3 separate regions of the Homo sapiens genome follow, and all the other regions are linked to region 2. The links are contacts of gene promoters, found by promoter capture Hi-C in blood cells and fetal thymus (Javierre and others, 2016). All regions are on one chromosome and are shown on one strand. Each heading gives the region's core, a stretch centred on a gene start or on the middle of the fragment in contact. The rest is flanking DNA. Distances are from core to core; before and after follow the strand shown.

Region 1 (4,677 bases), core at 178-2,677, 71 kb before region 2:
TGGTAGATGGCCACTAGAGTAGCTTTCTGAGAGTCATAAGACGCCATTGCACCCACATGCAGAGGAGCTGCTCAGCAGTAATTCTGGTTCTCCTCCTTCTGGGCAGGTGGTAGGATGCCGCAGGGCCAGTGGGCTGTGTGCAGATATGACAAATGTCTCCTGTGGCTCAGAGCAGCAAGAGCCTCCAGTGTGTCCTTCCCCAGCCATAACAACTGGTGACGTCCCACAGGGTGGAGCCTCCATCTGCCAGGGGCTCTGAGAACCCTGAGCCACCGGGAAAGCCACAGTAGACATGTAGCATGAGAAATAAAACTTCGTCATGCTAGCCACTAAAATGATGAGGTTGTACGTTACTGCAACATAACTTAGCCCATCCCAACCCAGCCACCATGGGAACCAGCTTCTATCTGATGTCCCAGCCTGTGCCCATGTTACAGGCAAAGCTGTAGGCAACCTGGTAACATGGCATTTTCTGGACACAGAGTTATTTCTTTAGGGCCACAAGCCAATGGTTTCGTGTGCTGGTTCTAGTTTCCATGAATGTGTTACGATCAGACTTTTAAGTTGTGAGGAAAACCCACCATGTTACTGATGTAGCTCTTCAGAAAGAGCAGGTGTTACTGCAAACAGGAGACTGGCACTGCCCAAAGCCCTTCTCCTAGCAATCACAATAGCTGTATCATTCTGTTGCGGTGTATGTGTTGGAGGGGGAAGGGGGAATTGATTTTGAGGCAAGACCTTGGGTTCAGCGTTCTTCGTTTGCTTTTTTAGAGAAAGGGCCTCACTCTGTTGCCCAGGCTGGAGTGCAGTGGCACAATCATAGTTCACTGTAACCTCGAACTCCTGGGCTCAAGTACTCCTCCCACCTCAGCCTTCTGAGTAGCTGTGACCACAGGTGCAAACCACCATGCCTAGGATCAGGATTTTTGGCAGAACAACACTGGATGTCAATAAATAGTTCAACTCAAATGGCAATCACTGACACCTCCTGGCTGCGGGTCACTGGAGGGTGACAGTGATGAAGGACACAGCCCTTTCACTGCAATAGCTCATAGTCTAGTCAGAGAGAGATATACAAGAAAAATGAACTATAATGAAGGCAGAATGAACTTAACCTCCACTAATAGCTGTGTGACCATCTTGTTGTCCGGGTGGTCAGTTTTATGAAGCCATCTGAGAGAAGGCTGCACGAGACAGTGGTGTGTGAACTGAGCCTTGAAGGATGAGTAGAAAAGAAAGGCACTCCAGCCTGAAGAAACTGCCCAAGAAGAGGGATGGGACTGGAGCACACAGGCTTTGTCCAAAAGACAGGGAGTGGTCTGATGAGGCTGCAGCAGGTGTGCATGAGGGATGCGGTGGAGGCAAGGCAGGAGGACGGGCCAGAGCCTGCACACACAAAAGCCCTCAAATGCCTCCGCCAGGCCCACTTGGTCTTACTGTTAGAGGTGTGAGTGATAAAGAAAAATGCAGTCAGGTGGTTTCCCACCCTTGGCCTGCTTGAAACCCCCACGCCTGTGTCCAGTGTCAGAATTTGAGATGGACATAGTTCTGTCTGCAGCAACACCCCCATCAGAAACAAAGCTCTTATAGTTCTGCTTTCCAGATTTCAGGTTTTACTTTGTCTTTACATCCCAGACTCAGAGAGAATCTCAGAGATCTAAAGCCTGGAGAGAGGAGGGGGAGGTGTCCAAAGTCACCGAGTGAGTGAATGAATGACTGCAAACTCCATGAGGGCAGGAGCCAGGTCTGTCTCTGCTGTATTCCCAGCACCTGGCCCAGGGCCTAACACATAGTAGGTGCTCAATAACTATTTGTTGAATAAGTGAATGAATGAGGCTTCACACTTGGGGAATTCTTTACTTTTTGCCAAACATCACCAAGAAAATCCCTAACTGTAGATGTTCACATGGATGATAGTTAAAGGTCAGTTACTGACCAAGATTACCCAAGTGCCCCTATATGTTCCTGAAACTGTCCTTTAAGAATCACCCTGATTCAGGGTAGAGGAAGGAAATCCTGCACAGGCTCTGGAGAAAGCTGGTGTCATGGAGGACACTGGAGCCCTTGTCCAGGAGGTGGCTAGTATAGATGGAGCAGGAACCTGTAGATAGAGGAGGCACCTGTAGCTGATGATGGATGCCATCCTCCATCCAGCCTCAGTAACAGGTCATTGCACCCCCCGGGGCAGCACCTTCAGGTGTATGTTTCCTCTGAGCTACATAGCATCCCAGTCTTCAAGGAGGAAGCTGAGTCTGAGAGAGGTCAAGTGTCTTGGTCAGTGTCACACAGCTAGTCTGAACTACAGCCAGGAGGCAAAGCTGGGTTTTGGAGTCGTGCATTCGCTATCTGCTGGGTGCCTGCTATTGGCAGCACTTGCTGCATGAGGTGCTGGTAGGAAGGAGGCAGAGTCCTGCTCTTAAGGTGTAGTAGAGAAGACAGGTGCACCACAGCGCACAATGACACAGAGGGATGGCCAAGGGCAGTGGGAGCACAAGAAGGCAGCAGGTAACAGCAAGGGGAAGGAGAGGGAGGAAAAGAGATGGAGCAGTGCTGGGCTCTGGAGAATGGGCAGAACACCCCCCACTGGGGATGGGCGGGAGGACACGCCTCCATCTCGGACAAAGGTGCGGAGCTGGGAAAAGAGATGGTTTCTTCAGGAAAGGGTGAGCCCTGCAACTCGACAAATCGTGGATACAACGAAACAGGAGGAATAAGAGAAAGAAGAAATCTAGCCCGGAAGGACAGACAGGGCTCCACTGCTGTCACAAAGCACTGTCCTCACAACCAACCCAGGAGCGAAGGGCAGGAGGGGAGAGGTGGATTATATCTTCTGAGTGATAAAAGTTCACACTCAGCTCCTATTTTTCCTTCAGACCAGGGGCCACCTGGCCATAAGACATTTTTCCAGTTCTAACAAGACTACTGTTCTCTGGACACACCTGGGCTTCCTCCTAGGAATACCTGACGCTGGCCTTTCCCGAGGAGAAGTGAGAGCAGCTCTGCATGGCGATGGAGGTCACCTGGGAGAGACCACAGCCTCGCCCACCGCTCCCTTTGCAAAGCTGGTCACAACTGACCGCACCTCCACCAGATTCGTGCCTGGCTTCCCTCCTCGTGTGACATCATTGTCAGTATCATTTCTCCTACAAAGCAATATGGAGGCCAGAAAGTAAGTTGCTTGGCTTTCATGACCACAGTTCAGTCCTGTGACCAGTAACTCTATTGAGACATGTACGTTCTTATGTGTCCTTTTAAACAAAATAATGAATGGTCCATGATTCCTTAAGGAGAGATGACCAGAAATCAAGCTTACACATCCTATGGGGCTGAAATATTTGATCTTCATGGCCCAAGGAACACTAGGTGAGCATCATCCATTACCCACCTGCCTTCCGGAGCTCATCTCACCTGACTCAGGGAGTGGGGCAGCGCCTGTGACAGGTGTGGAATCCTTTTGTCCACTTACTTTCCTTACTGCTATAGCCCCAGCACCTGATACCTAGCACAGAATAGGTACTTAATAAATACTTAGTGGATGAATAAATCTGAAATACTATGGCCATAATTTGGTCACATGAAACCGTAATGTAGAAAAGATGCTTCCTGTTAATGACCAAAAACACTTTGGATTCCAAACGATCATTTTAAACATGAATCTTTCTCTGCTGTCTCCTCTGACCCCATCCTGGGGAGAGCAGAGAGGAGCCTAGGGGACTAGAATGTGCCCCATCCTCCCCTCAGTGACGTCCACAGAACTGCAGCGCTGAGAAGGCCAGATTGCAGATCTGAAGTCCAACTCCCTCATTATACAGATGGTGAAACTAAATTCCAGAGAGGGAGGCTGACCTGCTGCAGCTCAGACATCAGGTCACTGGGCTCCCAGGCCAGTTGGAGCTTTTTCCAAAAAGCTGGGTGGTCCAGATGGAAAAGGAGAGAGAATGAGATGAAGTGGGCAAACCAGACAGCTGTGACGGAATACGTCCTGATGGGGCTACACGAGCACTGTAACCTGGAGGTGGTCCTGTTTGTGTTCTGCCTGGGCATCTACTCCGTGAATGTGTTGGGGAACGCCCTCCTCATAGGGCTGAACGTGCTGCACCCTCGCCTGCACAACCCCATGTACTTCTCAGCAACCTCTCCCTCATGGACATCTGCGGCACCTCCTCCTTTGTGCCTCTCATGCTAGACAATTTCCTGGAAACCCAGAGGACCATTTCCTTCCCTGGCTGTGCCCTGCAGATGTACCTGACCCTGGCGCTGGGATCAACGGAGTGCCTGCTGCTGGCTGTGATGGCATATGACCGTTATGTGGCTATCTGCCAGCCGCTTAGGTACCCAGAGCTCATGAGTGGGCAGACCTGCATGCAGATGGCAGCGCTGAGCTGGGGGACAGGCTTTGCCAACTCACTGCTACAGTCCATCCTTGTCTGGCACCTCCCCTTCTGTGGCCACGTCATCAACTACTTCTATGAGATCTTGGCAGTGCTAAAACTGGCCTGTGGGGACATCTCCCTCAATGCGCTGGCATTAATGGTGGCCACAGCCGTCCTGACACTGGCCCCCCTCTTGCTCATCTGCCTGTCTTACCTTTTCATCCTGTCTGCCATCCTTAGGGTACCCTCTGCTGCAGGCCGGTGCAAAGCCTTCTCCACCTGCTCAGCCCACCGCACAGTGGTG
Region 2 (4,544 bases), core at 1-2,500:
GGGGCCAGTGCGAACCAGGGTACGATAATGGTCATTCTTAGCCGAAAAACCAGAGGCCACAGCACCCGCAGTCAGCAGGGGAAGGCGCCAGTGGGAGGCAAAGCGGGCCACAGAGGCAGCAGGGTACACGCAACCGGGACCTAACAGCAGGTCGGGGTCATGGTACAGCTTGAGGTCCACAGCGCTCAGCGGTGCCAGGTACTCAGAGCAGGCGCCTTCCAGTTCGGAGCTGACAAACCGCAGGTCCACGGGCAGTGCCCGGCCCAGAGCCTCCACAGCTAGTGCCACAGCGGGTCCCACCCGTGGCCAGGCCCAGGCATAGCTCAGGTTGTGTTCTGGCAGCACCACCGCCAGCGTCAGGTTCCGCGCCCCGGGAGGACGCACCCCACCTGCCAGGGCTGCCACCAACAGCAGAAGTGATGGCAGCGCCATGGGGATAAAGCAGCAGCCCCACCGCCCCCAGAACTTGGGGCTGCTCTGGCCTACAGGGGAGACGCGAGCACCCCCCAGCCTGGAGCCTGGGGAAGAGGGCCAGGAAGAGGAGGAGTAGGCTAGGTAGGCTGGGATGCAGAAGGTGCTGGGGGCCGGGGAGAGGAGGGGGAGATGGGAGGAAGGCGGGGGGCGGGCAAGGAGTGGGCTACCAGCCTAGGGCAAGGACTGAGGACTGAGAACGGGGTGGCAGGGGGAGGGAGGGACCGAGGGGGCCTGCGGCCAGGATGGGGACAGTGCGAGGTGAAGAAGCCTGATAAATCTAAAGCTGAGAAGGAAAAGGGGATCTGGGACTGGGATGGGGTGGGGGTGGGGGGCGGGTGGTACAAAGAAACGGCCTGGGGGAACCTCACAGCTGAAAGGGCCGGGAGGGCAGGAGGGCGCTGCGCCACATAGGACCAAGGGGGTAAGGTGGGAGGGTGCCCGCGCCGCGGAAGGACTGGGATCATGGGCAGGCGGGGAGCGAAGCGAGGCCTGGGCCGGAGGGCAGGGGAAGGCAGGGGTAAATCTCCCTGTGAAGGATTCTCCCGGAGCTCCTGCTTGGACTAACGGGCCCGGGCGCTGGTCCCATCCGGAGCTACGGCGGCCCCGCCCGTGTCCCCGCTCCTCTCTGCTCCGCTTCTCCTGGGCCCTGGCGGCCGGCGCTGCCCGGCGCTTCCTCCCGCCCCCCGCCTGGGCCCCGCGCGCGCCGCTCGTCCGGGTCAGGTCGCCTCGGCCCGGCCCGTCTCCGCTCGCTGCGCCGGCGGCCGAGTGCGACTCCCCCGGGCAGGCCGCCCGCCCCCGCCCCTCCCCCGCTGCCTCTCCTCCTCCCTCCCGGCCCCACCCTCCGGCGCCGGCTGCCTTCCCCCACCCCCCACCCGGGCGCTCGGGACCGCCAGGTCCCAAACCCACCCCGGTGAGCACTTGGGGGCTCCGCACCAAGGCCTCGCCGGCCAGCAGGGTTCCCGGGCGCTCCCTCACTCTCAGGGCCTACCCTGGTCTCCCCCACGCCCCTGGTCCCCCTGCCGCCCCTCCTTCCATTTCCATCTCACACACGCCAGCGACCCCAGGGTTTGTCCTCTCCCCCTCGCTCAGCCCGTTCTTCTTGGGTCTCCCCTCTGAACTCCCTGAGTCCCTCAGTGGTTCCAGTCTCCAGGAAGCAGTCGAGGATCCCCAGACGTGTGGTATCCTCACCAGCCCCCTCACCTAGCAAACCATAGCGCCCTCCCGACGGCAGTGCGGCTTACTCCACCGCGGACCATGCCCGCTCCCTGGACGGGCCCCTCCAGCAGCCAGGGGCCCCTGCTGTACACTTCCCACCAGTCCTTAGAAAGTCCACGAGGCTCCTTCTTGCTTGGGACTCAACTCTCGGCCCCCCGCTGTCTCCATGCCCCCTGCCCTCCTCGTGTCCTCAGAGGCCCACCGCAGCCCGCCCGGCTTCCTCCGCACCATCTGCTCAGTCAGGGCCTCGATTTTCTTTTGTCTCCTGCACAGCGCAGGCTGGCGCCTGGGGAAAGCCTGTAACGGACCGGCGGGACACTCCCCGCAGTGGAAGCCCATCCACGCTCTCCTGGGGTTCCACCTTGCTCCCAGCTTCCCTTAGGAAGCTCTCCCTAGGGCCCTCATATCTGGAGTGCCAATCTGACCCCAAGAACAGCTTGTGAGGGATGATCTCATGGTGGCTGAGAGGGACTGCTATGGGACCTTGGGGATTTTTCTCCAACTGTCATAAAGGACATGCACATAAGCCCATTCTCTGCCCGCGCTAAGAGCCACGGTTTCTCTCCCCCCTTCAAGCTATTTCTCCAGAAATCACAAGCTAAGAGCGCTCCTGGAGCCCTGGAGTGGGGTGGGAGTGTATAGGGCGAGGACGGGCATGGTTTCCCTGAGATGAAGGCGACACCTAGTGGTTTGGTGGGGGAAATTAAGGACAATGCCACTTTATCCTTAGGCACGATATTTATTGAACACCGGCTGCCTAGCACAAGCTGTACCTGTGAATACAAAGAAAGCCGAATGATACAGCCCTTACCTTTGAGGAACATGCATTTGCAATCCCTGGGGCACAGAGGCCAAGAGCAGGCCGTCCCTAACAATGTTCTTGCCTCAAGCCCAGTAGAGATGGAAGCCTCAGGACAGCTCCTTCTTTAACGCAGAGGGGTTGGTAACTCTAGTTCCAGGCTCCCAATACTGCAGTGAAAAGGAATTTTGTCCTATCTGGCCAAGGCAAAAAAAAAAAAAAGGAACAGTCAAAAGAATGACGAGACAACATGAGAAATACTTTAGACCAAGTCAACCAAATAGAATAGTTGATTTTTAAGCAACTACACATTGTTTTATGAGACAAGCAAATCCAAAATGACAAAATTCCTGAAAGAATTACAGAATGGCAGGGCTAAGAGGATCATATAAATATATTGTTTAGCCCTCTCATTTAAAGATAATTGAAAACCAAATCCCAGAGAGGAAGGTCGCAGTGTCCTTACTTGCTCCTCTCCCCCAATCCCACATGGCTTTTTAGTTGCAAAAGAGAGATTAAAATGCAGGTTTCATGGTCTCCAAGGAGAGGCTCTTTATAGATATTTTGCTGACTCATGGAACTTACTGTAGAAAGCTGTGCTTACAATATAATAGCCACCAAACCCAGGCAAGTCTCTCTGGAACACCTGCAGCCCTCAGTGAGGATCAGCCACCACTGTCACCCAGACTCCTACGCAAGTACAAGTGCATCATATGTCATTATTCTGAACATTAAGGACTATTCTTCATTATGTTAGGGATTAAACATTCAAGCATCTTGCCTTTCCCTTTTCCTCCCAGTTGGCCAGTTAACTAGAAAGTAGGAAGGGGCCAGGCACGGTGGCTCTTGCCTGTAATGCCTATAATCTCTATTAAAAACCAAACAAATCAATCAGATATGGTGGCACGAACCTGTGGTCCCAGCTACTTGGGAGGCTGAGGTGGGGGGATCGCTTGATCCCAGAGGATAGAGGCAGCCTGGGTGACAGCAAGACCCTGTCTCAAAAAAAAAAAAAAAAAAAAAGGAAGTGGAAGGAGCCTGGTGCAGTGGCTCACGCCTGTAATCCCAGCACTTTAGGAGGCCAAGGTAGGAGGATTGTTTGAGGTCAGGAGTTCGAGACTAGGCTGGCCAACAAGGTGAAATCTCGTCTCTACTAAAAACACAAAAATTAGCTGGGCGTGGTGGTGGGCACCTGTAATCCCAGCTACTTGGGAGGCTGGGGCAGGAAAACCGCTTGAATCTGGGAGGCGGACATTGCAGTGAGCAGAGATCGCGCCACTGTGCGACAGAGCAAGACTCCATCTCAAAAGAAAAAAGAAAGAAAGAAAGGAAAAGAAAACATAAGTAAAAACTAAAAATAAAATTTAAAAGACAAAAGGGAAGTGGGAAGGAGTGGGGAGATAAAAGATAAATCCCCTAATGAGGTTTTTTATTAACACACAGTGAAAGGCTTTTGGTGTTTATTTTTTCATGTTTGAGGGAAAGCTGAAAATATTAAATAAATGAGAACTTCGGTTATGTATATATCCCACTATCCAAGCTATCACTGCTGTCATTGATATGGGCAATAATATTTTGGCTGTATTTGGTGACCATGCTGCAATACATAGAAAACCTAGGAAATCTAGATTCTACTGGCCTAAGCAGCAACCAGCTAGGGTCCAACTTTCTCTTTGTAGCACTGTCATGGCCTTCTTCTAATCCACAAACAGATACCAGCTATAATTTCTTCTGGATAGGGTCAATCAACACCCTCTTTCTTTTTCTTTTTTTTTTTTTCTTTTTTTGAGACAGAGTCTCACTCTGTTACTCAGGCTGGAATGTAGTGGCGCAATCTCGGCTCACTGCAACCTCCATCTCCCAGGTTCAAGTGATTCTCCTGCCTCAGCCTTCCAAGTAGCTGGGATTACAGGCGCCCGCCACCATGCCCAGCTAATTTTTGTTTTTAGTAGAGACAGCGTTTCACCATGTTGGCCAGCTGGTCTCGAACTCCTGACCTCAAGTGATCCACTCGCCTCAGATTCCCAAAGTGCTGGGATTACAGGCGTAAGCCACC
Region 3 (4,816 bases), core at 893-3,392, 96 kb before region 2:
GATTTTTTTTCTTTTCTTTCTTTTTTTTTTTTTTTTTTTGAGACAGGGTCTCACTCTGTCACCCAGGCTGGAGCACAGTGGCACAATCTCGGTTTACTGTAACCTCCACCTCCCAGGCTCAAGTAATCCTCCCACCTCAGCCTCCTGAGGAGCTGGGACTATAGGCCTACACGACCATGCCCAGCTAATTTTTGTATTATTAGTAGAGACGGGGTTTTGCCATATTGGCCAGGCTGGTCTCAAACTCCTGACCTCAGCCTCCCAAAGTGCTGGGGTTACAGGCGTGAGTCACCGTGCCCCGCCAAGTTGGATATTTTAAAAAGTCAACTAAATTTCAAATCTTTAGCTAGATTAACCAAGAAAAAAAAGAGAAAAGACTCAAATTACTAGAACCAGAAATGAGAGACATCACTACCAATCTTACACATATAAAAAAAAAATTATAAAAAACACTATAACAAATGTGTGCCAAAAAAATAGATAACTTAGATGAAATGGACAACTTTCTAGGAAGGCAGAAATTACCAAAACTGACTCAAGAATAAATTAAAAATCTAAATAGACCTATAAAGAGATTAGATTAGTAATTTTAAAAACTACCCTACAAAGAAAAGCACAGGCCCACATAGCTTCACTGGTGAATTTTACCAAACATTTAAAGCATTAATATGAATGTTTCACAAACTCTGCAAAAAATTAGAAGCAGATACCAAGAACATTTAATGGAAAAAGAATAGTGTTTTCAACAAATGGTGCTTGGACACCTGGATATCCAAATGCAAAGAATAAAGTTGGACACTTACCATACGCCAAATACAAAAATAGATCGAAGATCTAAATGTAATAGCTAAAACTATAAAATTCTGGGAATAAAACATAAGCATACATCTTTATGCTCTTGACTTTGGCAATGGAATCTTAAATATGATAGCAAATACACAAGCAATAAAAGAAAAACTAGATAAATTGGACTTCATTAAAAATAAAGTTTTGGCCGGGCGCTGTGGCTCACGCCTGTAATCCCAGCACTTTCGGAGGCCGAGGCAGGCAGATCACGAGGTCAGGAGGTCGAGACCATCCTGGCTAACACGGTGAAACCCCGTCTCTACTAAAAATACAAAAAATTAGCCGGGCGCGGTGGCGTGGGCCTGTAGTCCCAGCTACTCGGGAGGCTGAGGCAGAGGAATGGCATGAACCCGGGAGGCGGAGCTTGCAGTGAGCCGAGATAGTGCCACTGCACTCCGGCCTGGGCGAAAGAGCGAGACTCTGTCTCAAAAAATAAATAAATAAATAAAAATAAAAATAAAATAAAGTTTTGTGCTCCAAATACACCATTAAGAAGTGAGAAGAGGCCGGGCATGGTGGCTCACGTCTGTAATCCCAGGAAGGGATATTCTGGGAGGCTGAAGGTCAGGAATTCAAGACCAGCCTGGGCAACATGGTGAAATCCCATCTCTACTAAAAATACAAAAATTAGCCAGGCGAGGTGGCATGTGCCTGTAATCCCAGCTACTTGGGAGGCTGAGGCACAAGAATCGCTTGAACCCGGCAGGTGGAGATTGCAGTCAGCCAAGATTGTGCCACTGCACTCCAGCCTGGGCAACAGAGTGAGACTCTGTCTCAAAAAAAAAAAAAAAAAAAAAGTGAGAAGAGAATTCAAAGAATGGAAGAAAATATTTGCAAATAATATATCTGATAAGGGGCTTATATGTAGAATATATAACTCTTACAACTCATTAATAAGAAGACAAACAACCCAACTTAAAAATAGGCAAAGAACTTGAATAGACATTTCTTCAAAGAAGATATAAAAATGACCAATAAGCACATGATAAGATGTTCAACGTCATTAAGCATCTGGTTGCAAATCAAAGCCACAATGAGATACCACTTCACACCCATTAGGATGACTAAAATCAAAAAGTCAGGTAGTAGTAAGTATTCACAAGGATGTGGACAAGTCAGAAACCTCATACTCTCCTGGTGGGAATGTAAAATTGTGCAGCTGCTTTGGAAAACAGCCTGGCAGTTCCTCAAAAGGTTAAACATAGAGTTACCACATGGCCCAACAATTCCACTCCTAGATATACACCAAGAGAAATGAAAAATGAAAATCTATGTTCACACAAAGACTTGTACACAAATATTTATAGCAGCACTATTTGTAATTGCTAAAAGGTGGAGACAACCCAGATATCTATCAACTGATAAATAGATAAATAAAATGTAGTATAGCCGGACAATGAAACATTATTCAGCCATAAAAGGAATGAAGTATTGATACATGCTAGAACATAGATGAACCTTAAAAACAGCATGCTAAGTAGAAAATCAGTTACAAAAAATCATATATTATATGATTACATTTATATGAAACGTGAAGAATAGGCAAATTTGTAGGATCAGAAAGTAGGTTAGTGGTTGCTTAGGGATTGGAGGATGGGGGCACAGGAGGATAGCTACAGGGTACCAGATTTCTTTTTGAGGTGATGAAAATGTTCTAAAATTGCTTGTGGTGATGGCAGTTCGACTCTGTGTATATGCTAAAAGCCTATGAATTACACTCTTTATTTATTTGTTTGTTTGTTTGTTTGTTTTTGAGACAGGGTCTCACTCTGTTGCCCAGGTTGGAGTGCAATGGCGCAGTCTTGGCTCACTGCAACCTCCGCCTGCCCGATTCATGTGATTTTTCCCCCCTCAGCCTCCTGAGCTGGGATTACAGACCACCATGCCTGGCTAATTTTTGTGTTTTTCATAGAGACAGGGTTTCACCATGTTGGCCAGGCTGGTCTCGAACTCCTGATCTCAGGTGATCTGCCCACCTCAGCCTTCCAAAGTGCTGGGATTACAGGTGTGACCCACTGCGACCAGCCCTGAATTGTACACTTAAAATGGCTGAATTGTATGGTATATCTAATAAAGCTGTTCCCAAAAAAAACAAAAAAGAAAATATAACAAATTAACTTGAAAACCTAGATGAAGTAGAAAAAGTCCTAAAAATACGTAATTTGCCTAAACTGATTTGTGATATGATAGAAAACTTATAACCATTTAAAAAATTGTCAGTAGTTAAAATCCTCCCACAAGGTGAAGACTAGTTGCAAATAGGTCCAACTTGCACAAACTATCCCAGTATAGAAAAATATTATAAGCTAGCATAACCTTGAAACCAAAACCTGACCAGACCCTATAGAAAAGGAAAATTATGACACAACATCCTTTATGAATATATATGTAAATCCTGAAAACATATTAACAAATTAAATCCAGGCGTGTATGGAAAACCTTCTAAATCATGACAAAGCCAGATTTCTTCTGGTAATACAAGGGTGATTTACCATTAGAAAATCAATTGACATAATTCATCATATTAAAACAATAAAGAAGAAAGACTATATTATCATCCCAATAGATGTGAAGACTATTGGACAAAATTTAACATTCATTTTTGATTTTAAAACTCTTAGAGAAAAAAAACCAAATGAAGAACAGTAATATATTATGTCTTCATTTGGGTGAAAAATAAAGGGGGAATGTGTGTGTGTGTGTGTGTGTGTGTGTGTGTGTGTGAGATGACCCTCGTTACAGTGTCCAGAGCAGAGAACTAGGTTATGAGGTGACATGAGTGGAAGGGAGAGTTTGTCTACATATCCTTTTCTGCCTTTTGAATATTGTGCCGCAAAAATGAACAGACTATTAAAAATAAATTTTAACTTAACAATTAAATTACATTTGTAAAAAATGCTTAGCAAATTAGGAATAGAAAGAAACTTTCTTAATCCAATAAAGAATATCTAAAATCAAACATCATTCTTAATATTGATATTTGCAGCTGGGCATGCTGGCTCATGCCTGTAATCCCAGCACTTTGGGAGGCTAAGATGGAAGAATCCCTTGAGCCCAGGAGTTCAAGACCAGCCTGAACAACATGATGAGACCCTGTCTCTACCAAAAACATTTTTTTTTTAATTATTGGGGCTTGATAGTGTGTGTCTGTAGTCCCTGCTGCTACTCAGGAAGCTGAGACAGGAGGATCACTTGAGCCCGGGAAATCAAAGCTACAATGAACCATGATCATGCCACTGTACTCCAGCCTGGGTGAAAGAGCAAGACCCTGTGTCAAATAAATAAATAAATAAATAAATAAATAAATAAATAAATAAATAAATAAAAGATACTTGAAAGCATTAAAGATCAAGAGCAAGACAAACCTGTAATCCCAGCACTTTGGGAGGCTGAGGCAGGTGGATCACCTGAGGTCAAGAGTTTGAGACCACCCTGGCCAACATGGTGAAACCCGGCTCTACTAAAAATACAAAAATTAGCCATGTATGATGGCACGTGCCTGCAGTCCCAGCTACTCAGGAGGCTGGGGCAGAAGAATCACTTGAACACGGGAGGCAGAGGTTGCATTGAGCCGAGATCACACCATTGCACTCCAGCCTGGGTGACAGAGACTCCGTCACAAAAAAAAAAAAAAGCAAGACAAAGATGGCTGCTTTTACTACTTCTTTTCAACATTATTCTCAAAGATCTTAGCCAGCACAGAGGCATAATAAAATATGTAAAAAGGAATAAGGATTGAAAAAGAAGAAACAAAACTGTCATTATTTGCAGATGATGTTTGTCTACAAGAATATCCAAAATAAACTATAGATAAATTACTACAATTAATGTGACAGTGGAGCAATATTCCAGGCCTTAAAATCAGTAAACGAAAATAACAAAAATTAATTGCATTCCAATGTAACAACAATAAACACTGAAAATGTTATTTCTAAAACTGATCCCATTTACAATAACATTAAAATATATA

The links. Contacts are between HindIII fragments. The CHiCAGO score rates a contact against its expected background, and 5 or more counts as called.
Region 1: a contact is called between a fragment that was not itself captured here and the fragment with the promoter of NPR2 in region 2, in 4 of 17 cell types (neutrophils, naive B cells, activated CD4 T cells and 1 more). The highest score is 6.3, in neutrophils.
Region 3: a contact is called between a fragment that was not itself captured here and the fragment with the promoter of NPR2 in region 2, in 13 of 17 cell types (neutrophils, naive B cells, naive CD4 T cells and 10 more). The highest score is 9.9, in neutrophils.

The regions. Positions count from the first base shown.
Region 1 is chr9:35,859,247-35,863,923 of GRCh38, reverse strand. It overlaps TMEM8B (transmembrane protein 8B), which reads right to left. Exons shown (of 13, transcript NM_001042590.4): 13 at 1-4,677. It also overlaps the pseudogene OR13E1P. Among named protein-coding and RNA genes, the nearest start is that of OR13J1, 8.8 kb to the left of the region's middle. The HindIII fragment of the contact is 3,766 bases long and covers 1-3,310 here.
Region 2 is chr9:35,788,297-35,792,840 of GRCh38, reverse strand. It overlaps NPR2 (natriuretic peptide receptor 2), which reads right to left and starts at 1,250. Exons shown (of 22, transcript NM_003995.4): 1 at 1-1,250. The coding sequence starts at 432. It also overlaps a transcript of RGP1 not described here. The HindIII fragment of the contact is 14,834 bases long and covers 1-4,544 here.
Region 3 is chr9:35,884,455-35,889,270 of GRCh38, reverse strand. No RefSeq gene overlaps it. Among named protein-coding and RNA genes, the nearest start is that of OR13J1, 16 kb to the right of the region's middle. The HindIII fragment of the contact is 8,845 bases long and covers 1-4,816 here.